6 separate regions of the Homo sapiens genome follow, and regions 2, 3, 4, 5 and 6 are each linked to region 1. The links are contacts of gene promoters, found by promoter capture Hi-C in blood cells and fetal thymus (Javierre and others, 2016). All regions are on one chromosome and are shown on one strand. The core of a region is centred on a gene start or on the middle of the fragment in contact, and the rest is flanking DNA. Distances in the headings are between cores, read along the strand shown.

Region 1 (4,433 bases), core at 358-2,857:
TGCCATTTCATTTCGCCCCAACCACCACCACCTAAATTGTAAAGCTGTACAGTCAGGAAGTCAATCTTATACTTCATCAGTATAATGTGCTGTGCAACACAGTGGGCATCCAATAACTAATTCAATTTGAATGAATTATCTGAGGGCCTGCACAGAAAGTGTCCTCTAAGCTCTGACATCATCCTGTCTATATATCTATCACTGGTTTTTATGTATATTAAAATTATTTCATGGGGAGGGTGACAGGGATGTAAAGATAAATAAAATCCTGTCTCTTCTTTCTGAATTATGGCATGCTCTATAAACATGAACTATTCAATAAATGTCTGTTGAACCTAACTAAATGCTAGAAGCCCTTTAAGAGGAATGGAATCAAAAAGTAACCATGGTCACACTGACTACCAAGGGTACCCCAACCCTTATTCTGTTAATAATTCAACACAAGCAGTTTGCTAAAGTTGTCAAGAGAGTTCTGAGATTCCCTGTTTTAAAAATAGCATTACTACTCAAAATTCCCCAGTAAATTTAAGGAAATGGTCCCTAACAGGCTCGGGCCTGGCCTGGTATTTTCACAACACCCCCTGTCAAAAGCCATACACAGCTAATAAGCATTCCCAGTGGGGAAAGTCATTAATTAGCAGAGCTGCCTCAAATGTCCAGACACTACAGTATCACTTTGACCCCTGTCTATTTCCTGTATCTCTCCATTTAAACCAAATTAAGTCTTCTTTTTTTTTTTTTTTTTTTTTCTTCCTGCACGCAATGCTAACACAGAAATCCCTGGCCTGGAACAAAATGCCTCTCCCAGGCCAATGCAGCCTACCTACCTTACAGGTGGCACAGGCCTGGGCAACCCGCCCCCCACCCCCATCCCTTCCAGCGCACAGAAACCCTGCAAAAGTTTGAAAACGCAGGTTCCAAGAGGCCCCCGTAGCCCGAGGTCAGCTCGGTGGTCCGGCTCCAGCTGTGCCCGGCGACAGCCAAGATGGCCCTGAGCGGGGCCCACTGCGGCGGCGGGGCCGAGGGGCGCCGGCCGGGGCCGCTGTCTTCGCCGCCTACCTGAGCGGCGTCAGGGACCAGGGGGCAGGCCCGACGCCCCTCCCGCTCCGCCGCAGCCCCGAGCCGGCGCGTTCCCGGAAACGGGGGCCGGGCGGGCGCCAGGTAAGCGGCGGGGGCGATGGGGACGGCCGCGGGGGCGGTCCCGGACCAGGTGGGCCCTGCGGGCCTGCTGAGAGCCCGGTAGGGCCCAGGGGCCAAGCGCAGGCAGAGGCCGCGGCCGGGGCCTATGCGGGCCGGAGCCCGGATCCAAGCCGGGCCGGAGGCGGCCGGGAGCGGGGCGGGAAGCCGGGGAGGGAGAGAGGGAGAAGCCGGCGGCTGCCGTGGCTTCCTCAGCCGGGTCCGGGGGCGTCCGCTGGGGCAGGCCGCGACGACGCGGGTTGCCGCGCTAGGGGGCTGGGATCTCGGCGCGGCCGCGTTCCTTACCCTGCATGCTGCTGACGGCCGGGTGGCCTGGCGCCGGGGACCCTACGGGGCCGGGGGTGCCGCTGCCGCTGCCGCCCCCGGAGCCGCCGCCGCCGCTCGGGCTCGGAGCCGCCATTGTTGGGAGTGAAGAGCCGAGCGGCGCCGCGGCGGCTGCAATGCAGCAAGCTCGGCCTCTCGCACGGCCGAGGGGCGAGGCTTACCCCCGCCTTGGCCCCGCCTCCGACACGCCCCGGACACGCCTCCTGACACGCCCCCGCCAGAGCCCGACGCGCAGCCCGGGCCAGATGCTGAGCTGCAGAACCGCCCGGCTCTGGGTGCGCGACCTGTGAAGCAGACAGCTGTCTTGGACCAGGGCTGCGGGCCCGCGGGGCCTAAAGTGGTTTGCAGAATTAAAGGTGGGCCTGCATTTGTGCGGAAAGAAGGTACGCAGCTTTCATCATTCCCATGGAGGTCTGTGACTCCCAAAAGTCCACTTTGTTGGAATCTCAGAACCCCAAATCAGAATAGTAAAGCTGAAAAGGATCCCAGGGATCCCTTTCTCCTCCAGTCGCTAACACATCACTTCCAGAAGGGAGTTACCTAGAGCTATGGTTACAGTCTGGAACTCCTCTTAAGCCCAATACCCCAACCCTCTACACTTCTCTGAGGGGAAAGGGGAGTCCCAAGGGGAACTAACCAAAGTGCTGTCCATGGACCCATCCCAAAACTACTGAATTAGAGGTTACATTTTAATAATACCACCAGGTAATTTGTATGCCCATTAAATTTGAGAAGCATATATTTAAGCACTCGACACTTCCCAGCCTCCTGAAATATGCTATCTACATCACCATCTTCCCCTAAATGCACACTGGATTCCCTCTCCCAAATCCTTTACATCTTGTATAAGACGAGCCGTAGTCATTATTGTAAGTTACATAAAATGACAACCCCAAAAAACAATATGAGGTTTCTTCCATTGCTTTGCACAGAGACTTTTATTTTAGGAAGACAGTAGCTAAAAGAAGAAAAAGTTCTCTATGAGGCTACGATTTGTAAGCCAACCATAATGTACTCGAAATGGTAAGACATGGGTTTCTGGCCAGGCAGCCTTGCCTAAAATGGAATAGCCAGTTATCCTACTTCCCAAAGAATCTAAGCCATGGAGCTGGACATTTTCTCCCATTTAGAAGCATTGTGTGATCTACAGCTAGACTTCTTTCCCAAAACTTCTTCCACCCAGATGTTATTTGATGCTGAGAGTTCTTCACAGCATGTTGGAAATGTGTCCTGGGTCAAAATAGCCCTGCCTTCTTGTTCCAAACCCAATTTCATCCATCATCTTGATGGCTCAGATCCTAAAAGTGGCTAGCCGTAAACATCAAGTGGAGAGGCATTAAAGGCAAATTGAAGGTGAGAGCAGGTAGGTGTACTTCAGTGGAGAGCCCGCCAGAATTCTCCTCCATGGGCCTCGTTGGCTGCCCAATATCTTCAAGTCCAGGTCTTATAAACATGGCCAGATTCCCATCTGGAAATCAGTAGCCCACCCAGCTCTTGTTGCTCCTAGGGCATCTTAATTATGAGCCATCATAACTGGCCTTTAATAAGAATTTAATATATATTCTTTTAATAGAAATCCTAGAAGCAGCACTACAGATTAGGCAACTACTAGAAAATTAATTTAAACACACACACACACACACACACACACACACACACACACACACATCCAATATTATAAATAACATATATTAAAGAAGGCTGGGGATGTTGGCTCACACCTGTAATCCCAGCACTTTGGGAGGCCAAGGCGGGTGGATTACGTGAGGTCAGGAGTTAGTGACCAGCCTGGCCAACGTGGTGAAACCCTGTCTCTACTAAAAATACAGAAAAAAACAAAAATTAGCCGGTGTGGTGGCAGGTACCTATAATCCCAGCTACTAGGGAGGCTGAGGCAGGAGAATCGCTTGAACCTGGGAGGCAGAGGTTGCAGTGAGCCGAGATTGTGCCACTGCACTCCAGCCTGGGTGACAGAGCAAGACTCCATCTATTAAAAAAAATATGTATATATATAGTTATATTTATATATATATAGGAAAACCTTCAACCTAGCAAATTCATTAAGGGAAATTGGGAAACTGAATTAAAAGAGAAATACAATAAAAATATAACTAATCTTATTTTTAAGAATACCTAATTCTGAGTTTGTGATAAAACTGACATATACTTGCATTGCTGTTGGTATTGTAAACTAGTAAGAGCCAATAATTAGATGTGCATATGGCAAAAACAAGAAAGCACTTTGATTTGTTCCAACTGAGGAAGCTATGTATGAGCTTTTTAACTTTTTCTTATGCTCACATTTCTCTTACATATTTGTGTTTTATGATTTCTTATGGACTAAATTGTATTCTGCTCCCTCACCAAATTTACATGTTGGAGTCCTAACCCCCAGCATCTCAGAATGGGACTATATTTGGAAATAGGGTCTTTAAAGTAAAATGAGGTCATACGAGTGGGCCCTAATCCAATAGGACTGGTGTCTTTATAAAGAGATTAGGATGCAGACACACAGAGCTAGGAGAAGATGATCATCTACAAGCCACAGAGTGTGTCCTCAAAAGACACCAACTCTGCCTACACCTTGGACTTCCAGCCTCCATAACTGTGAGAAAATACATTTATGTTGTTTATTGGTTCTTTTGCTATGACATCCCTTAGCAAACTAATACACAGTTCAGAAAAATGAATTGCTTAAAAAAAGTTAACCTTTTTAGTAATAATGGTGGTAGCTGGCATAATCACTGGGGAGACGGGAAGGCAATTAAGCAATACATATGAATAACCAGCAAATTTACATTTATAAGATATCCTTGAGGAAATCCCCAAATGGGCCTGAAACTCCTGGCTCTGCCATGTAGTGATTTTATCTTCCCACTAGAGTAGATGAAAATAACAAATTAAGATGATTT
Region 2 (3,986 bases), core at 1,367-3,866, 1.1 Mb after region 1:
TGCTAAAAAAAGAGCACAAAAATAATGGTACAACTTAAATATACCATTATTCGTAAGAACGAATAAACTGTTTTAACATCGGGAGGGATATAATGATCGTATGCATGGCCTTATTTGAATGCAACATTAAATGCCTAATCATGTTCTTCATAAATGTGAGAACTGGGACTGGTGGCCTTCCTGTCCCCACACCCCAATCCAGTCTAAAATAGAGGGTGTGAAGACAGAGGGGGTGTTAGTGAGAGCTGAGACTCAATAATGTCTTGTTCAACTGAGTTGAAATGAAGTGAATAATTTTCAGATTTCAACAAGAAGAAAATGCACCCTGGCTTAGTAAGAGTCCTCTCCATTCATCTGCTCATGGGCAGCATAAACTGGAAAGCCCTCAACTTCAACTACAGAGTTTGGTGCACAGACCCCCATCTTGGCCATCTTGATTCCCAAGAGGCCCCCAGCCACTCCACCGGCCCCGCGCAATTGGTCCAAGTTGCCCACTAGCCCACGGCGAGGTGATGATGGTGTCACACCACCACCTAGTGGCCACTCCTGTGAAATCGTATTCTCCTTAACCTCTGGGATTTATAAGCTCGCCCAGGTGAGTCTTCTGCTTGGGAAAGGACTACCAGTGACTGGGAGGACCTAGAGTACCTCTCTCTCAATATACTAAGGGTGATATAAAGTGTTTTGCCCAAATCCCAGCATGTAACACTGAGAGCTTAGTAACCGGAATTAACATTACCATTGTTATTGCCATGATACTGTAGAAATTCCTGAGTCTCTTTGAAATTAATTGGGCTGCCGGAAAATGAGATTTTTCAAAGATAATTAAGAATCCATTTCTACTTTAATTTCATTCAATAAACAGGTACTAAATGTTTAATATATGCCAGCACTGTGCTGTGTAACTGGGACAGCGTGAAGAAGATATAAAAATGGCTAAGATGCAGTCCCTGCTCTAAGACATTTCCAGTCCAGAAGGAGAAGTAGGCACGTAAACAGCCAGCTCTCAAGTGCTAAATAGAGACACAGCCAGAGTGCTGGCTATGACAGCGCGGAAGCAGCAGTGATTCATTTAGACGCCTGTGGTTTCCCTTAATTCTCAAAATAAAATCCTGGTCCTTACTATGGTCTTGCAGGGTCTGGCGGGGCTGCCTCTCTACGCTGCTTCTGGGCCTCTCTCCAGCACCTTGGAGAGCTCCTGGCCTCAAAGAAGGAAAGGAAATTTCATGAGATTGCAGAATAGGCAAAAGGCCGCGAGGGTGGGGGGTTGGGGGTTGCAGATGCTGTTTCTGGAGTCAAGGTTCTAGCTCTATGACCTTGGACAAGACACTTAATCTCTCTGTGTCTTATTAGCCTCATGGAGGAAAGGACGATGTTAATAACAGCACCTACCTCCTGGGGTCATTGTGAGGATTCAAAGACTTTATATTACAATGTAAGGCACTTAGTCTCTGAGGCATGGTAAATCTTCCTCTTTTTTTTTTAAGACATGGTCTTTTTCTGTCTTCTGTCACCCAGGCTGAAATGCATGGCACGATCACGGCTCACTGCAGCCTCAACTTCTTGGCCTCAAGCAAGTAGCCTCCCAAGTAGCTGGGTCTACAGGTGCTCACCACCACGCCCTGCTAAATTTTTTGTATTTTGTAGAGACAGGTTTTCCCCATGTTGCTCCGTCTAGTCTCTAACTCCTGAGCTCAAGCAATCAGACTGCCTTGGCTTCCCAAAGTGCTGGGATTACAGGCGTGAGCCACTGCACCTGGCCTAGATCCTCCATATTTTTATTACCAGCTGTACTCTGCAAAAACCTCCTGGGCTCTCCATGAGATGCAGATCCAACTTCGTAGACATTCAAGCTTTTGTGTTGTTGTTGTTAAAGCTTGGTCTATCCTGTTTAAAGCTTTGCTTTCATATGTGATTCAGCACTTCCCACGCATCCACTGAGTGCATTTGGAATTGGAGGTGCAGAAGAAGGTGCCTGGCAAGCTCCCTTTTTTCTTTTCTTCTTGATTTGTCCCCTTCATCATCCTGTGTGACTCTAAACCCTTTAGAGGCCTACCACTGGCCTGTGGCCCAGCAGCAAGGACACGAGGAGGGGAGATTCTGCTCCCATTGCTCACGTGACAATGTTCTGACTCATTTCTGTGCTGGTGACTTCTATGAGGGAGGATCCTGACGGAGGTGGTGTATTTGGCTAATATGGAAAGCTGTTCAGCCTTGCACTGCTCACCCTTGACTCTTTTCTTTTCTTTTCTTTTCTTTTTTTTTTTTTTTTTTTTGAGACAGAGTCTCACTCTGTTGCCCAGGCTGGAGTGCAGTGGCGCAATCTCAGCTCACTGCAACCTCCCAGGTTCAAGTGATTCTCCTGCCTCAGTCTCCTGAATACCTGAGATTACAGGTGTGAACCACCACACCCGGCTAATTTTTGTATTTTTAGCAGAGACGGGGTTTCACCATGTTGGTCAGGCTGGTCTCGAACTCTTGACCTCATGATCTACCCACCTCGGCCTCCCAAAGTGCTGGGATTACAGGCATGAGCCGCCGCGCCCAGCCCTTTGACTCCTTTCTAAAGAAGATCTCTGGAGGCGAACCATGTGGCCCTTTGTCCACCAGTTTATGTTCACCCTCTTCTCCAGGCCACCATCCTGTTGTCCAGTCTGCTAGACTGGGGGATCCACGTGGGCAGGACCTGTCCATCACCACTGTAGAGTCAGTTCTGGGTACAGTGCCTGGCGTATGTGTGTCTTCAACAAGTGCTCGTGGTGTTTGCAATATTTTCCCTTCCCAGCATCAGGAAATAGATGGGATGAATATTTATGATCACTATCTGATGTCCTTAGACAAAGGGAGGAGAGGGACCAAAAGGTCCACTCTGCATCTTTGGGGGCCTTGTGGGGGTGTAGGTATACAATAACTGCAAGTCCCTATTAGGGCCTCAGCACTCAGAGAGGCTGCTGGCCTGCTCTTATGATAAATATGCCTCTAAAAATATATTGGGAAAAATTCATCTCTTTGTATCCCAGTGAACCAAAGGGAAGTGAAACAGGTCATTAAAATGAGACTTTTTGTCATCTCAGAGTTTCAGCTGTGACCCCAAAGCTAAAAACAATGAGTGCCAAGTAGACACCCACTGTAATGCTGAACCACATGTGTAGGCTTGGCGAAGGGCATTGCCAAAAGCTACTGCTGCTTTCAATAGATGTGCACCTGTCTCCAGGCTATGGAGGAAAAAGCCGAGACTCACAGGAGGTTAAAGAGATGCAAAGGATTAGATCTTTGAAGAGAGATATTGGTGTTTTATATGGGTTGCTCTCCACACATGTGTGAGAGCAAGCTTCGGGTCCAACACCTCAGGTCAGAGAAAGGACAGGACTTAAGGAGAACTATCGAGGCTCCCTGAAGCCTGGGTGGCAGCCAGGCTCATTCCTAAAGAGTCTACAGGTAATAGGCAACAGCTGAATACAGAGGCTGCCAAAGATGCAAGCTGCACTTACACTGAGCGTGGGGGAAGGAGCCTGTGATGGGTGGTCCAGGAAAGAACCAGCCATGGCCCTTCTAGAAAAAGACCCTGTCTGACATATACACGATGGAATACTATGCGGCCATAAAAAGGAATGAGACCATGTCCTTTGCAGGGACATGGATGAGGCTGGAAGCCATCATTCTCAGCAAACTAACACAGGAACAGAAAACCAAACACCACATGTTCTCACTCATAAGTGGGGGTTGAACAATGAGAACACATGGACACAGGGAGGGGAACAACACACACCAGGGCCTGTTGGGGGGTGAGGGGCAAGGGGAGGGAACGTAGAGGATGGGTCAATAGAGGCAGCAAACCACCGTGGCACACGTATACCTATGTAACAAGCCTGCATGTCCTGCACATATGTCCTGGAACTTAAAGTAAAATAAAAAATAAAAATAAAGAAAGAAAAAGACCCTGTCTGAATATGCCCAACAGTAAAAATGTTTAAATAGTTTTATTG
Region 3 (3,946 bases), core at 817-3,316, 1.3 Mb after region 1:
GGAGAGCTTTGAGATGAAGGAGAGTCATGATTCTATGCATTAAGGACAATTCTAGTTACTGTGAGGAAAACAGGGTTTAGGGAGACAAGAGTGGAAGCTGAGAGACTGGTTAGGCAGCAGATAGCAGATGCCACAGTCCAGGTACGAGGTGTTAGGGTTTGGGTTAGGCTCCTAACCATGAGGGTGGACAGGAGTCGCCCAATTGCAGATATGTTTCCAAAGTGGAAGCAATGAGATTTGTTGTTGAATTAAGCATGGAGGAGAAAAATAGGTCAAAGATGCTTCCAAGATTGTGGCTGGAGCAACCGGGAGAACTGATGGTGCCATTTAGAAAGAGAAGAAGACTTACAAAGAAAGGAGCTGGTTGTGGGCAGGGTATCCAAGATTTGGCTTTGGACCTGTTTGAACAGAAACTGCATAGGAAATGGGGCAGGGTGTAAGGAGAGCCCAAAAGAGGGCTGAGGACTGGGCCCCGGGGTTAGCCCAACTTGTGATTTGGGCGAAGAGGAGGATTCACCAGAGAAGGATTCACCAAAGGAGGCTGAGGAAGAGTAGCCCGGGAGGTTAAGAGAGACCTAAGAGAGAGTGATGTCCCCTGGCAGAGAGCACCAAGTGTTTCAAGGCAGAGGGCCTGATCAACTGTGTCACAAGCCACTGATAAAGGGAGCAACAGGGGACTGAGGCTTGACCTCAGACTTGGCAACACACAGCTGACCTTGATAATGTCAGAATATGTAATTCTGATACCAGCCCTGCAAGCTAAATATTATTGTCTTCATTTTACAGATAAGGCAACAGAGGCCAGAGGAGGTTCAGTGATGCACCCAGGGCCACATAACCAGTGAATGTTGGGGATCAGATTAGAGTGCCCACGTCTCCAGCCTCCTTCTGCCATTGACACCATCACATCGACCATCCGGGCAAGACCCCCGCACCGCCCCCAAGGGCGCAGGCTTGATTTCACTGCCAAGCCAATAATGTCAGCAACAGCACTTATGGTGCTGGACCATAAATGAAACAAGCTTTGAGAACTAACTGCCACCCCAGAGGCCTCAGGGAGGAGGTGGCTGCCCTCAAAGGCTCAGTCTCGTATTCTGTAACCTCTCTACCCTGAAGAAGATCCCACCAGCTGCCTCTTCTTCCAGATCCTGCCAAGAATTAGGCATCTCCCAACCCCACTCCTGGGCCTCTTCTCCACATTCTCCCTGCCAATCATCCCCTTTAATAAAAAACGGTGAATAATTTTCTAGCATGCATCTTTGGATTGTTTACTGATTACCATAAACATTAGCTGCTTTTGAAATGCATTTTTTCAGCTTACTGTATTTTTTTTTGACTGATTTTTTTTTTTTTTGAGATGAAGTCTCACTCTGTCACCCAGGCTGGAGTACAGTGGCTTCATGTCGGCTCACTGCAACCTCTGCCCGCCAGATTCAAGCGATTCTCCTGCTTCAGCCTCCCAAGTAGCTGGGATTACAGGCACCTGCCACCACGCCCAACTAATTTTTGTATGTTTAGTAGAGACGGGATTTCACCACGTTGGCCAGGCTGGTCATGAACTTTTTTTTGACATTTTATAATGAAAATTTTCAAACATACAGTAAAGTTGGAAAGTTTTGAGCAGTGAACACCCACACCCCCCCCCCACTAGACTCTACATGTACCATTTTACTCTCCTCGCTTTACCCCGCGTCTGTCCATGCATTCCTCCCTCTGTCCACCAGCATCCATCTTATTTTCTAAGCAAGCTACAGACGTCAGTACGCGTCACCCCAAACACTTCAGCATGCATGTCACAAACTACAGTTCAATATTGGTTTAAGAGTTTGTTTGGTTTTCCAGATATAATTTGCAAAGAGAGAAATTAACATATCTCATGAGTATGGATGCTGACTTTGGACAAATACATACACAAATAGGTTACTGAAATCTCCATCAAGATACAGAACATTATCATCACCCCAGAAAATTCCCTTATTCTCTTTCCCAGACACTCCTTGTCTCACCCCAAAGGCAACTACTGACCTAATGGCTCTCACATCCATGGTTTTTGCCTCTTCTGGAATTTCACATAGAGTCACACAGCATGTAGTCTTCTGTGTCTGGCTTCTTTGGTTCAGCATGTTTTTGCAATTCATGGATGCGACAGCATGTTAGTAGTCTGTTTCTCTTTTTTGCTAGTGGTATTCCATTATGTAATTATATCACAGTTTGTTTATCCATTCTCTTGTTGATTGCAATAATTCTTTTAATAAAATAAAATTATTCTTTCATGAATTTCTAGTTAGGATGCTTCTGACTTTCTGTTAAGAATTCTCTCATCATCATTTAAAGCAAACTGGGCTTGAGTCGTGGCTGTTTAGAGCCTGATCTTTGAAATCAGAAAGCTCTGGATTTCTACTTCAGTCTCCACTGTTACTAAGTGGGTGACCTTGGGCCAGTTACCTAACCACCCTGCACCTGCACCTTACTTTTACATCTATAAACTGGGAACAAAAATATCTAAAGGATAGGAGGGGCTTATTAGGATTTAAATAATTCATTTATTCCTTGGCTCTTTCCTGTAGCAATAGTTAATAAGAACCCACCGAGTTCAACCCGCTAAGCCTGGGAAGGTAGCAGGAACCAAAAGCAGAGAGAGAGATTGTTCTCATGGGCCTGTTGTTCTGTGGGCTACACAGACACTAAACAACTAATTGTACAGTTAATTATTTAATGGCCATTGTGGTCAGTGCTGCAAGGGAGATGTGACAGCTGCTAAGAGCCTGTGACAGGCTTACGTAAGGAGGCTAAGAGTGGAAAGAGGACAAAGTAGGCAAAGCGGGACCCTTCCCGACAGAAGGAAATGCAGTGTCTGAAAGCTCTCTGGAGGGCAGAAGCACTGCCCTTTGGAAGGACTGAAGAGGCTGTGTAACCACAGGGCCAGGGGTGTGTGTGTGTGTGTGTGTGTGTGCACGTGAAGTGGTGAAGAAGGAAGGTGAGCTGGAACAAGTGGAGGCTGACCAGGCTGGGCAGTGCTCTGAGTACGCAGGGCTTTGCAGACCAGGTTCAAATGTTGGTTTTTAACCCCAGAGCCATAGGCAGTGAGGGGTGCTGGAAGGTAAGCTTCACACAAGAACATCAGGTGGGAGTTGTCTGTTTCGTTCACTGCTATATCCTTAGTGCTTAGATGAGTGCCTTGGATCCATCTGTGGGAGGAAGCGAGGGAGGGAGGGAGGAAGGAAGGGAGGGAGGAAGGAAGGAAGGAAGGAAGGAAGGAAGGAAGGAAGGAAGGGGAAGGGAAGGGAAGGGAGGTGAGGGGAGGAGAGAGGAAGGGAGGAAGGGAGTGGGGAGGAAGAGAGGAGAGGAGAGGAAGGGAGGGAGGGAGGAAAGGAAGGGAGGGAAGGAGGAGAAAAAGGGAGGGACAGAGGAACGGAGAGAGGAAGGGAGGGAAGGAGGAGAGGAAGGGAAGGAGGAGAGGAAGGGAAGGAGGAGAGGAAGGGAAGGAGAGTGGAAGAGAGAAGAGGAAGGGAGGGAAGGAGGGAAGGAGGGAGGGAGGAGAGGAAGGGAGGGAGGAGAGGAAGGGAGGGAGGGAGGAGAGGAAGGGAGGAAGGGAGGGAGGGAGGAGAGGGAGGGAGGGAGGGAGGGTCTTAAGCAGAAATTGGAGATTTGTGTCTCATACAGTCACTGGCTGCAGTGTGGAGACTGGGTGGGACGGAGCACAGAGTAAGTATTCTTCTGCTCAGGCTGCCAGAGCACTACAGACTAGGATGATGCTTAAACATTGATTTCCTCATAGCTCTGCTGGCTGTAAGTCCAAGATCAAGGTTCCATCAGGGTTGGTGGCCGGTGAGGCCTCTCTTCCCGGCTTATAAATGCCCTCTTCTCCCTGTGTCCTCACATGGCCTTTCCTCTGTGTGGGCCAGGAGAGAGCCAGCTCTGGAGCCTCTTCCTCTTCCTGTAAGGA
Region 4 (4,557 bases), core at 1,060-3,559, 1.0 Mb before region 1:
ACATGGGCTATGTCCCTCAGAACCAATTCACGCAACCACCACCAAGATACTCCTCTGAGCAAATTCTAATGCAGTGACACCAGTGTGGAGGGAGACAGCCATTAAGCATCTCTGCTACTTGCAGGCTGATTCCAATCGACTGAATGAAATACGATTAACACCTTGAACTTTCTGGAGTCCAGATCCAAAGACCTTGAGTGCTCCTTGCAACTTTAAGAATATATGATATATTCTTAATGTATATATGATTATATTGCCCTTAGATACTGCCTATCCTTGTTACGGCGCCATCACACTCCTCAGCCTCCCATTCTCCAGAAGCCAGCTCACTGTCTTTTGGCTTCTAAGCAGCAAATCATTAAGTCAAAGGTCCAAAAGGAAGAGTTGTTGCCCAGAATCTTTAAAATATTTTTGACAAAGCAAAGGATGGGATTAGGAGTTAGGCAGCATCCAGAAATAAAACACAGTGCATTTTTTGTTTGTTTGTTTTTGCTTTGTGCTTGAAAGCAAGATTCCCAACTATGAGTTCCAGCATCAGGGCAGAATGCGTGAGACCTGTTCTCTAAGTGCTGTTACTCGCCACCAGGAGTCCGCACTGTGTGGTCTAATCACCTGGGAACTTGCTAGAAAGGCAATTTGTGGGGTCCCACTCCACTCCTACTGAATCGGAAACGTTGGGGGTGGGACCCAGCAATCTGCACTTTTTTTTTTAGATGGACTCTGTCGCCCAGACTGGAGTGCAGTGGCATGATCTCAGCTCACTGCAACCTCTGCCTCCTGGGTTCAAGTGATTCTCCTGTCTCAGCCTCCCGAGTAGCTGGGATTACAGGTACCCGCTACCATGCCCAGCTAATTTTTGTATTTTTAGTAGAGACAAAGTTTCACCATGTTGGCCAGGCTGGTCTGGAACTCCTGATGTCATGATCCACCCACCTTGACCTCCCAAAGTGCTGGGATTACAGGCATGAGCCACCGAGCCCAGCCACAATCTGCATTTTAACAAGCATTGGGGTACTCATTCAGTTTGAGAAACCCATTTTTCAGCCTTGCCTTTCCCCTTCCTGAGTTATAGGCCCTTTGAGAATCTGACTCAGGCTAGCAGCTCTCTCCAAGAAAAATGCACAAGCAAACACTTTTGCACACAATTTCTAGGGGGCTCAAAGACCACCATGAATTCAGCCCATTCAGAAAAAAGCCCTAAGGCTCTGGAGACCCTGGCTGAGAAGGCCCACTCTCACGATGGAATCATATATCCTTAATGTTGCAAGGAGCACTCAGAGTCTCCGGATCTGGACTCCAGACAGGTCAAGCTGGTAATCATATTTCATTCAATCGGTTGGAATCAGCCTGCAAGTTCACACCAGCAAAGCAGGTGCTCAAGCCCGTCACTGTCATCACCCCCCACGTCCCAAACAGCCTTCTCAACATCATCCCCATCCGCCCCAACTTCGATTTCACTGATTTCCGGAAAAGAAAGGCGAAAACCGCCATCAGGGTGGCACCCTAAACGTTTCATAACAATTTTTTTTTTTTTTTTTTTTTTTTTTTTTTTTTGGAAATCAAAAGCCAAATTTAAGAAGGGAGCAAGGAAGGAAGTTGGTTCCGGCTGCTGTTACAGAAAAACAGAGTGAAGGAACCCACATCCACCACTAGGTGGCGGACATGGACGCAAAGGCGCCATTAGGCCAGAGATCCCCAAGGGCCTAAATTTGCCTTCATGCCTAAGCTTTTTGGCCCATAAAGTGTTAGTAAATATTTTCAGGAAATTTCACATAAAATCTAGTTCTCAGCCTCCATTGCAAAACAGTCCCGAGATCTGACACTGTCTGAGCCTGCGTTTTACAGAGCCACTGTTGCCTGGCTCAAGACGGAGCACCACCCCCTCAGATGGAGCACAGAGACTTAGCTTGCTCTGATCCTCTGGATCACCCATCTTACCTTCCTGGCCACTGCAGGCCGTAGACTTTGCCACTCCAATAGCCCAGAGCCACTTAAGACATCTGCAGGTGAGGGATATGGGTGGTTTCTAGACAAAGATTGACTCAGAGCAGCAAAGTGAAAAGCAAGAGCTGCCTGCATGTATTTTTCTGCTCTAACATTTCCCCCTTGACTCTTGACTCTTTGCCCCTTCCCTCCTTGGTTTTATGGTATGCATCCTTGTTTCATCACTCACCCCCAAGCCTGGGTGAGGTACCTCTTCTGCGTGCCCCACACCACGCGATTGCTTCCCTAGCATAGGGCTTACCACGTGCCCAGTTTTTTTACTGTCTCTCCCATTGGTTTGTAAATTCTGTGAGGGCAGAAACCAAGATGATCTTGTCCACTATTGAAATGTTTAGCCCAGTACCTGGCTCTTCAACGGAATTCAATAAGAAAGAAAAGAAAAAAGGAAAAAAGAAAGGAAGGAGGAAGGAGTGGAGGGGAGAAGGGAGGGAAGGAGTGGGGTAGGAACAGAAGGAAGGAAGGAGGGAAGGGAAGGGAGGAAGACATTGCCAATCGAGCATAGCATTCTTGCTCTTGAGCCTGGACCCTGAGGCCTTCTCAAAACAATACTCCAAGCAGCTACCTCAGTCTGAGTTGGCACAGGAGATGCAAAATACTTTCTGCCTGATAGCCTGGGAAGAAGCTGTTTGGGAAGGGATTCCAGTAAGGAAATGACTGCCCTGCTTAAACCTTGGACCGGAGTGTGTCAGGGGAGATGGGCAAATCCGTGTTGTTCTGGCAGGAACCAAACCCAACAGAAAAGAGAAAGGAAGGAGAGGCAGCTATTCAGCAAACAGAACATAGGCTGTCACGAAAAGACTTGGTTAACTTCAGGCTATAGGCCACAGGGGTGCAGTTGACTGAGGGATTTTACGGATGTATCTAAGTAACGTATCTTAGAGAAGCTTTCTGAGAACAAAGCCCCATGCTGGTAGGAACCCTTCCCGCTCTTGGGCATCTCAACTGCAAACCAGATGGAGAGGTGGATTGGGGCACTCTTCACACATCTTAGCCCATGGAGGAAAAACATGAGTGTACACTGCCCCCTAGTGTTCATTGTTGGTAACACGATGAGGCTCGGGAAATCATAAAAACCATAAATGTCTAATGAACAGATGCAAGAGAAGATAAAAACTACATTGATTTTATTTTAGCTTTTTTCAGTTAACTGAAACACACACTCACACGCTTATGTATAAAACATTGAGAAAAAGCCATAGCCAAGGAGGAGAGTCAAATCTTTAAAGATCCCAAACCAGATACTGCTGGCCAAGAACGAATGGATGAATTGGGAATTCAATTCAGGCCCCTTGGATACCATCCAGATGTTCAAGCAGCTGGTCACACCAAGTCCCTTCCAGTCAATTACTTTTCTTGATGTTTCTAATCAACAGCATTATATATGTGATGCTATAAACTTTTATATTTAATATTAGCTCATAACTCAGGATCCCAAACCAGATGTTTTGGGTGAGAAAGAAATTGATGACTTATCAGGAGATTGAACCCAGGCCACTGGCTGCTCTCCAGGCATTCTACCAGCTGAGCTGCAAAGCAGGGTGGTTGCTACCAGCTCCCTTTAGTTATGAGGAGAGAGAGAGAGGAGTGGGTAGAATATGAACATAAAGCCGTATTCCAGAAAAGCTTCCATGAATTCTTTTTCTCTTATAAAACAGGAGCCTGTAGCATTGTCTTGAGTCAGTAATGGTCAGGTATATTCAAAGCTTTGAGCTCGTCTCCCTTCCTTTATGACATTATAGAGGCGCAGGGAAGCAGTGACGGAAGGGAAAAGAAAAGTAAAATACATGGCCAGGAAAAGGAGATGCGCTGACATGATCGATTGTCACCAATGAGGTGGGGTAATGTCTTTAAAAATATTAACCAACTTTTTCTTCCAGGAAAAGTCCCCCTGTGCCCTTCCCTCACCAAAGAGCTAGGCCCACTCTCTGGAGGAATTAGGCAGAAGAGAGAGCTGAGAACAAAGAAGTCTTCCAGGATTTGGTTTCAAAAGCCTAAGCCCCTGGGGACATGGAGAGGACAAAAGCTTCAAGCTAAGGAAGGAGAAGAGAAACTCCTGCTCGTTATCTCTCTTGAAAAACATTTCCCAATCTGTGGAGCAGGGATCGGAAAGATTGGTGGGTCCCAGAGACATGGGCCTTGTGTCCAGCCAACTTCCTGAGTTAGAGGCCTGAGGAGGTAGCTGACCCCAGGCAGGGAAAGCTGTGCATGGTGTCTGCCAGATGGAGCCAGAGTAATTCCAAACAAGATAAACCATGAAAAGCACCTAGCAGGATGCCTGGCACACAGTAAGTGCTCAGTAAATTGCAGCTGTTACTGCTTTTATGAGGGTACTCAGTTTTCCAGTGCCTTAAAAATCACCAAAGCCAAGTTCACCATGGCAGGCGGAGGTACGCTTCCTCAGCAACGGACAGCCAGCATCCACCACTCTTGTTCTTTCCACCCCTACCCCTCCTTCCGACATCAGACGAGACCACTTTTAACTCAGTTTCTTAGAAGTAACTAAGGTCAACCAATGTGTTATGGTTCATTTTGTGTGTCAACTTGGCTAGCTCA
Region 5 (3,890 bases), core at 1-2,500, 1.3 Mb after region 1:
ATACAGAGTTTTATCACGTTGGTCAGCCTGGTCTTGAACTCCTGACCTCGTGATCCGCCTTCCTTGGCCTCTCAAAGTGCTGGGATTACAGGCATGAGCCACCGCACCCAGCCAAAAGATCAGTACTTTAAGTCAACCTGTTAGACTTGCCCTGGTATGTCTTGTGTCATTTCCTTGTCATGACCACTTGCTCCTATTTTATCACCTCTTCCTTTGCTTCCTCCCACCCTTGTCTCTGAGGACTTATTAATAGGTCCTTTTGTTTCTTTTCTACTCCTACTGCCATCTGCCAACAACAAAATTCATAGACCTGTAAGTTAAACATCACTGAAAAGGTGTTTCTTTGTTATAACCCCCAATCTTTAGAACACTGGAGAGCCAAACTATAGGTTGGGTCTGTAGATAAGAATGTAGACCAAATGGGTTGAATCACTTCCAGCATGAAGCCCATGGGTTATAGTGAACTCAGCCTGGGGCTTCTAGTGGTATTATGGCTGAAGTGATTGTTTTTTATTCTATGTAAAAGATATGTGCATATAATACATATTTATAGAAGCATATACCCACCCCCAAATTATTAGTCTGATTTGTACTACAAATCATTCCTCTCCCCTAGGAAGTGACCCAATCTCTTGTAGTATATACACAGATCATGTATTGGTTTGGGCTCATTCTGCCTCACACTGAAGCCTCTTTAAAAATGTAAAAGTATTGACTGATCAAATCTGGGATTTTCTTAGTTGCACTGTTTCTTCTAGCGACCTGAAAAAAGTGATGTATCTGTGGATTTTATAAAATATTCATTTCATTTTGGGGGGATCCACTTATAAATCAGGGCATAGTCAGGGATCTCATACCTGCCTTTTAAGATGAAATGTATTTTCATATGAGGCTTTAAATTCTCTGAAAAAAGTAATTTATGAATCATGGTCAGATTTGAAAATATTCCATCGATGCCATAGATCTTGAGGGAGAGTCAGTCACTCAATCAGAATGCGCTATCAGGTGGTCATGGAGAGAATGTGATGATATGCATCTCACTTGTAGCCACTTCCAAAATCTGAAATGTACACCCTTTTATAGGGAGCTGTCTGGTCTGGTGATTATTACAGCATGGATTATCCTGTGCCACAGTTCCTCAAAGTAAGTATTCAACTCATCACATCTTCACTTTGGGAGGCCGAGGCGGGCAGATCACGAGGTCAGGAGATCAAGACCATCCTGGCCAATATGGTCAAACCCTGTCTCTACTAAAATACAGAAAATTAGCCCTGTGTGGTGGCACGCGCCTGTAGTCCCAGCTACTTGGGAGGCTGAGGCAGGGGAATCGCTTGAACCCGGGAGACAGAGGTTGCAGTGAGCCAAGACTGTGCCACTGCACTCCAGCCTGGGCGACAGAGCAACACTCTCTCAAAAAAAAAAAAAAAAGAAATCACATCTTCGAGGCTGACAAAATCAGGTAGTAAGTGAAAATACTGCCATACAAGTAAAAACAGGAATCTTTTGAAAGAAATCTTCCCTTTTCTTAAGGGAAGTTAATAATAGTTGATTTAAAGTATCCTGGTCACTCTTGTCCACAAAAACCGTAGTTTTCTACAAGGCCCAGTATAGTCATGGGCAGTTGTCAGCCTAAAGGGTGTTCTTCAGGGTGAAGGGAAATGATCTCAGGAGGAAACTTAGAGATTCACGAAAGAATGAAGAGCAAAGACAATATAAGTGCGTGTGTACATATCGATGAATGTTAACTAATTAAACATATACAGGATAGAAATACATGACAACAGTGGCATAAAAGCTGGAAAAGAGTAAATGGAGTTTAAGCATTCTAAGGTCCTTTAATTGTGTGAGAAGAGATAAAAGTATCCATTTATATTAAACTTTGATAAGTCAAGGATTAATGTTGTAATCATTAGGGTAACCACTGGTAGCATTAAAATGAGTACAGAAGGCAGGAGAAGGGGAAGGGGAAACAGAAACAATAGGACAAATAGGAAGCATGTGTTAAGATATAGATTTAAACCCAAATATATCAGAAATTACATTAAATGTAAAGGTAAAGATTTCAGTTAAGAGTCAAAGAATCTCAAAGTATGTAAAAAGATTAAAAACCCAACTCTAGGCCAGGCGAGGTGGCTCACACCTGTAATCTCAGCACTTTGGGAGGCCGAGGCAGGCGGATCAACTGAGGTCAGGAGTTCGAGACCAGCCTGGCCAACATGGCGAAACCCCGTCTCTACTAAAAATACAAAAAAATTAGCCAGGCGTGGTGTTGGTCACCTGTAATCCCAGCTACTTGGGAGGCTGAGGCAAGAGAATCGCTTGAACCCGGGAGTCGGAGGTTGCAGTGAGCTGAGGTAGTGCTGTTGCACTCCAGCCTGCGCGATAGAGCAGGACTGCATCTCAAAAAAAAAAAAAAAGAAAGAAAAACCCAGCTCTACACTGCTTAAAAAGACAACCCTTAACTGTACTGATATAGAAAGATTTAAAGTCAAAAGATGAAAAAAAACTACAAACACCAGCCAAATGAAATACAATATTGCAATTTTAACAACAAAGTAGAATGTAAGACAATTATTGGAGAAAAACAACTTTTTGTGAATATTTTTAATTTTTTGTTTTAACTTTTTATTTTGAATTTTCAAACATATATAAAAGCAGAGAGACTAATATCTTGAATCAGATATACTCATCACCCAGTTTCAACAATTATTGGTATGTCCAATCTTGTTTTATCTGAACCTTATCCACGCCACACTGCCAAACTATTTTTTTTTTCTTTTTTTTCTTTTTTTCTTTTTTTTTTTTTTTGAGACAGAGTCTTGCTCTGTTGCTCAGGCTGGTGTGCAGTGGCGCGATCTTGGCTTACTACAACCTCTGCCTCCCGGGTTCAAGCAATTCTCCTGCGTCAGCCTCCCAAGTAGTTGGGATTACAGGCAGGTGCCACCACATCCAATTTTTGTGTTTTTAGTAGAGACGGGGTTTCACCATGTTGGCCAGGATGGTCTCAAACTCCTGACCTCAAGTGATCTGCCTGCCTCAGCCTCCCAAAGTGCTGGGATTACAGGCGTGAGCCACTGCACCCGGCCAGTTTAAACATATTTAATGTGTTTCAGTCCGTGACAGTTATTGTCTTTATTGATGCTCAGACTGTCCCATTTTTGTCCAGTGGCACTTATTCAGGTCTGCTCCTGAATTCTTTCTGACATGACCCTAGTAAACCTTTGATAGCTTCCTTGCTTTCTGGTATGACAAGATGTTCCAGGCGCATGTTATACCCAGGATCATGTTTTAGGCCACAGACCTGGAATCAACAGTGTTTGCAATGTTCGTGAATTCATATATATGTCATAAATGTATATGCATACATAAATATATACACGTACACATATACATTTAAAGTTAAGATGTCTTATGAGTTTATACTAACTACTCAAATTCAGAGGTACCAGTTCTTATTAACCTTATTGAACATTTTATATCTGGATCTCCTTTTAATCATGGCAAAATTTCTAGTCTCAGTGACCTCAACATAATCACCCATTTGATTTATTCTACAATACAAATGCAATCTCCAAATGATAATATGACTACTGAAAACAGGTTCTCTTGTTTGTTTTTGTTATTAGGATATAACCTACTAAGGGATGTACACTCAAATTACTGGGCATAGTGTTCTGTATGCTAATCCCACCAAGTAAATACACAGTTAGATTCATTTATTTCTAGGGCTAATTGTATTGAAAATATATTGATATTATTTTATAATTATGTAAAATATCTACATGGCTCAAAAGTCAAATCTATAAAATAAGATATATTAAAAGAAATTCGGCTTCTCCAGCCCCCTGACCCTATAGCTTCCCTTTCCCTATGGGGGAAAATTTTTTCAG
Region 6 (4,487 bases), core at 100-2,599, 1.3 Mb after region 1:
TTTAGAATTTTCTCCCAAACTGGTTGGCTTGACTGGCACGAGAGAAGAGGTCGATCAAGTGGCCAGAGCATACAGAGTGTATTACAGCCCTGGCCCCAAGGACGAAGATGAAGACTACATAGTGAGTAAATGTTCCAGTTTTAACCCATGGACCAGCTCCCAGATCCCAAATAGTCATAAGGCTTTCAATGACTGACTAGCTTCTGAGAAGAGAGAATACCTAAGATTATTGCAAAGTCCTTAGGAATTTTTTTTTTTTTTTTTTTGAGATGGAGTCTCATTCTGTCATCCAGGCTGGAGTGCAGTGGCACAATCTTCGCTCACTGCAACCTCCGCCTCCCAGATTCAAGCAATTCTCCTATGTCAGCCTCCCGAGTAGCTGGGATTACAGGTGCGCGCCACCACACCTGGCTACTTTTTTATATTTTTTGGTAGAGACGGGGTTTCACCACGTTGGCCAGGCTGGTCTCGAACTCCTGACCTTACCCGCCTCAGCCTCCCAAAGTACTGGGATTACAGACGTGAGCCACCGCATCCAGCCTCCTTAGGAATTTTGAATATTTGAAAGGATAATAGAAGCATGTTTTTTACTTTTTATTTATTTTCGAGACGGAGTCTCACTCCGTCAGCCAGGCTGGAGTGCAGTGGTGCGATCTTGGCTCACTTCGACCTCCGCCTCCCGGATTCAAGCAATTCTCCTCCCTCAGCCTCTCGCGTAGCTGGGATTACAGGCATGTGCTCCCACGCCTGGCTAGTTTTTGTATTTTTAGTAGAGAAGGAGTTTTGCCATGTTGGCCAGGCGAGGCCAGGGGGTCTCGAATTCCTGACCTCAGGTGGTCTGCCCTGCCCACCTCAGCCTCCCAAAGTGCTGGGATTACAGGCCTGAGCCACTGCGCCCAGCCAGAAGCAGTTTTTTAAAAGATGATTGTTTGATTTATATTCACTGTTCTCATAATTCAATTGCCTGTTTTTCTCTTATAGTGGCATATAGGATTTTAGGGCAGTTTAAAACCAGATACTTGGGTGCCATGTTGGAAATAAAGAGAAGCCATCATTTGGAACAACACTTATTTTAAAAAGATTGTGTTGGTTCTCACTGTGTCCCCAGTAGAGGTATCAGAAATTGCTCTTCTGGAGAACCAGTTTTAGGCCATGGAGAACTGCATTTTTAGGTTGAATGAGAATTCTGAAAAGCAAAAGATGAAAGGTTTATTTGCCCATTGACTATATGCCTTGGACAGTTAGGCGTTAAATATGTGCTTTTTAATGATAAGGAACAGAAATTCTGTTGTACTTGTGTAGCTCTTAAATTAACTATCTTCATATTCATCAGCACTGCCCCAGAAGCCTTAAGGTCATGCCCAAGTTACTGTGTTTCTTTTCTTGTCAGTGGTTTCACAGTGAAGCACCAAAAGGCATTAGCACCACCACTATCCACCAATTTTCCTCTCAATTTGGACATTTTTCTCCTATCATATGAAGAGTCGGCGTTGTATTTTAGCATTATTTCAGTATTTTTCTTAGTTGTCATACTCTGTTTTTTCTATAATATTGTTTGGGCAGAGTAATCCTAAGAGCCTTTCTAGCTGTGAAGCTGTCTTTGTAGAAAGAAAGATGGCCAAGACCCTGAGTCACTGATCCAGCAGCTCCCCATGGCCCATCCCAAGAGTTGAGATGCAGAGGGGATGGGATGTCTCACTGCAGTGCTTTGTCTCAACAGCCAACTATGATTTCTTTGTCCCTTTGAACCTGGAACGTGTGTGCCCCTGGAGCCTACAGCCTGAATTAAAAGCAAGGTTCTGGCCTGTTTGCCTTAATTAAGCCTACACAGTAATCCTGTCTTCCAGATGTGGTGCCTCGTAGAATTAGGGAAACTTGGATTCCTTGGAGTAAAAGATGAGAAAAATGAGCACTTTTCTTTAAGCCTTAATTGTAAGGAAAGTAGAGGGACCCTCCTCTGTTTTCCTCTTGCTGCTTCTCTAGCAGAATGAGAGAAGAGCAGAGAGCCACAGTGGCCAAAAGAGGAAACCATAGGAAAAGGACTTTCCGGACTTCTGTCTTTATAGAGAGTTGTATTAACTGGTTTTGAGTTTATCCGATGATGACAGCAGGAATAGATGAGCTCATCAGTCTGATTTCCAGCATTAAATGAGTTATATTAAATTGTTTAAATGTATACAGTCCTAAACTAGGTAACACTCCATAGTCTTGATGCTTAGAACTCATAACTCAGAGTCAGAAAGTCAAATCAGAAAGCAGTTGTACAAATAAACCCAAACAGCCTGCAAAACTTAAATTGAAAACATTCAGTTACATTGACAAGAGATTTTGCTGAAACCAAAGTGCTGCTCAGGGCAAGAAGGGAGGGGGTTTTGGTCAGACTGCTATCACATACCCAACTCTACTCAACTGCCCCTCTGCATTTTCTATTTAAAATACTTTGAAACCTTTAATCGTGTAGCCTGCCTTGCCTGGTTAGTGTTGATTTGGCAAGAATGTATCATATTCATGTCTGCCTGTAACAGCAGTGGGCAGCTAGGTGCCAGTGAGATCATGGAGCAAACACAAGCCTGGGCACTGAAATTTATACTCACAACACAGATAATCCAGAATATGGATATTAATGTTTTTAATTACAAATGAAAACAAAAATATGTAAGTCTTATGGAAACTTCTTGGACCTTGTAGAATGTATCTTTGGCCCCATTTTGAGAAATACTGGCCTACTGCCATAAGAATTTGACTTTTGATGAGATTCGATGAGGAATTCATGCTGTACATTTGCTAAATCATCCAATAGGGGGAGACATTCTTCAGCTTCTTAGGTTTTTCATTAGTATGACTTCAGTCCCTTGAGGTCACAGATTTTCATCCATAGGATGGTTTGGGAAACTTCTGTTATCATTTAAGGACCTGCAGGAAGTAAGGGGGTACCTTTAAGGTTAATGTTGAGATGTAATGGAATGAAGTTTTCTTAATCCCAAACGACAGCAACAACAGGCAAGCTTCTGGCTTTTGAGTGGACTCTTCAGAGTGATCGAACTGGGTATACCAAATATTTGGAATTCCATAGAAAGCTGGATCTGCACATTATTGTATTATATATATATAATACTATATTATTATATAGATATTAGTTAGAAAATACTTTTGAAAAAAGAATACAAATAGCTTTCAAACCTAAATGTGCAGTTTCATAATAAAAGAAATGTGAATTGTATAATGAGGTAACATTTTTCTCTTGGCTCAGCAGTGGTCAGAAAATCTGAAAATATATTGTCGAAATTGGAAAAGCAGGAAATAAACTGCAGGAGTGAATTTGGAACAGCAGGCACACTCATGCATTGTTGATAGGAATTAAACTCATACACCCTCTTCAGAGGGCAGTTTAACAGTATTTCTCACATTTAAAGTTATATACTTTTTATGCAAGAGATTCTACTTTTTGGACTTTATCCTATAAATATACCCTATGGCATTGTTTTTAAAGAGAAAAAACTGAAAATCCAGTAACCATTTTTTAACTACTGTGTATAATCTAACGTAGAACAATGTCCAATATATTGTTAAATGAGAAAGCAAGTACTGTAGAATATATTGTTACTTGTGTATAAAAAAAATAAGTGGTAGTGGATATATACACATAGTAGATGCAGAGAATTTCTTCGGAAGGATACAGAAGGAACTGATGGCATTGGTTCACTCTAAGGGGAACTGAGGCACTCTGGGTGTGAAGAGGGGGAGGGACATTTTCATTGTATACATTAACTGGATATTCGTTTTCTATGTGCATATATTACCTTTTCAAAAAATAATTCACACTAAAACGTAACTTGCACACTAGAAAAACTGAGTTGCTGCTCTCCATTAGAATTGGAGCTAGAGGCAACGTGGTGATAAAAGTTTGTGGACTTTGAAACTGGACAGATTCTAGGTTTTAAAGTTAGGCCTGGCACTTACCAATTATATAATTTACTCTCTCCAGCCTGTGATATCATTTGAAGAGGAGGAGAATACCTGTTTCATGGCTTAAGATGACATGTGAAAGAATTTGTCAGTTAATGCTAGTGTCCTTTTTCTATACAAGGAAGTACTAGAACTTGGAAGACCTCTGTAGACCTCTGTATTAGAATAAATGTCAATGTGCTCTGTCACAACCCAAAGGAATATTGAGGAGTGACCTCTGACAAGTTCGACAGATACAGATAAAATAATATTTTTGTTGTGTACTACAAGGTAATTTATATTAAGAACACTCAGAAAATAAGTCCCACATACTGTAGTTTGTTTTTTTTAACAGAGAATAGAGAAAAGGAAGAAATAGGGAGAAAGAGTGATGTAAGCTACAGAGTAAGGCTTGAAGAGAGAACTGGAGACTTAATTCTGATTTCTGTATCAAATATGTGGAGAAACGTAGCCCCCCGTCTTGCTCCTGCGGTGAACTATCCCACAGCACTTGGAATCCAGTTGTTGGCGCTCTTTTGGTG

Evidence for each region. The method cuts DNA at HindIII sites, captures the fragments that hold promoters and counts their contacts. A CHiCAGO score of 5 or more calls a contact.
Region 2: a fragment that was not itself captured here is called in contact with the fragment with the promoter of MAP2K4 in region 1 in 1 of 17 cell types (endothelial precursors); the score reaches 6.5 in endothelial precursors.
Region 3: a contact is called between a fragment that was not itself captured here and the fragment with the promoter of MAP2K4 in region 1, in 1 of 17 cell types (total CD4 T cells). The highest score is 7.6, in total CD4 T cells.
Region 4: a fragment that was not itself captured here is called in contact with the fragment with the promoter of MAP2K4 in region 1 in 7 of 17 cell types (total CD4 T cells, naive B cells, naive CD8 T cells and 4 more); the score reaches 9.9 in total CD4 T cells.
Region 5: a contact is called between a fragment that was not itself captured here and the fragment with the promoter of MAP2K4 in region 1, in 1 of 17 cell types (total CD4 T cells). The highest score is 6.1, in total CD4 T cells.
Region 6: a fragment that was not itself captured here is called in contact with the fragment with the promoter of MAP2K4 in region 1 in 6 of 17 cell types (activated CD4 T cells, M0 macrophages, total CD4 T cells and 3 more); the score reaches 9.0 in activated CD4 T cells.

What each region holds. Positions count from the first base shown.
Region 1 is chr17:12,018,051-12,022,483 of GRCh38, reverse strand. It overlaps MAP2K4 (mitogen-activated protein kinase kinase 4), which reads right to left and starts at 1,607. Exons shown (of 11, transcript NM_003010.4): 1 at 1,483-1,607. The coding sequence starts at 1,597. It also overlaps a transcript of ZNF18 not described here. RefSeq lists a silencer at 891-1,770 and an enhancer at 1,307-1,807. The HindIII fragment of the contact is 6,257 bases long and covers 1-4,433 here.
Region 2 is chr17:10,872,705-10,876,690 of GRCh38, reverse strand. LOC124903926 (a long non-coding RNA gene) reads right to left here and starts at 1,503. Exons shown (of 2, transcript XR_007065619.1): 1 at 1-1,503. The HindIII fragment of the contact is 1,434 bases long and covers 1,900-3,333 here.
Region 3 is chr17:10,738,564-10,742,509 of GRCh38, reverse strand. All of the region lies in intron 1 of TMEM220-AS1 (TMEM220 antisense RNA 1), which reads right to left. Among named protein-coding and RNA genes, the nearest start is that of TMEM220, 11 kb to the right of the region's middle. The HindIII fragment of the contact is 2,083 bases long and covers 1,025-3,107 here.
Region 4 is chr17:13,029,085-13,033,641 of GRCh38, reverse strand. No RefSeq gene overlaps it. Among named protein-coding and RNA genes, the nearest start is that of ELAC2, 13 kb to the right of the region's middle. The HindIII fragment of the contact is 1,162 bases long and covers 1,729-2,890 here.
Region 5 is chr17:10,720,523-10,724,412 of GRCh38, reverse strand. It overlaps TMEM220 (transmembrane protein 220), which reads left to right. Exons shown (of 6, transcript NM_001004313.3): 5 at 1,084-1,143. Among named protein-coding and RNA genes, the nearest start is that of TMEM220-AS1, 7.3 kb to the left of the region's middle. The HindIII fragment of the contact is 9,230 bases long and covers 1-3,890 here.
Region 6 is chr17:10,682,361-10,686,847 of GRCh38, reverse strand. It overlaps SCO1 (synthesis of cytochrome C oxidase 1), which reads left to right. Exons shown (of 6, transcript NM_004589.4): 5 at 6-121. Among named protein-coding and RNA genes, the nearest start is that of SCO1, 13 kb to the left of the region's middle. The HindIII fragment of the contact is 3,317 bases long and covers 1-3,007 here.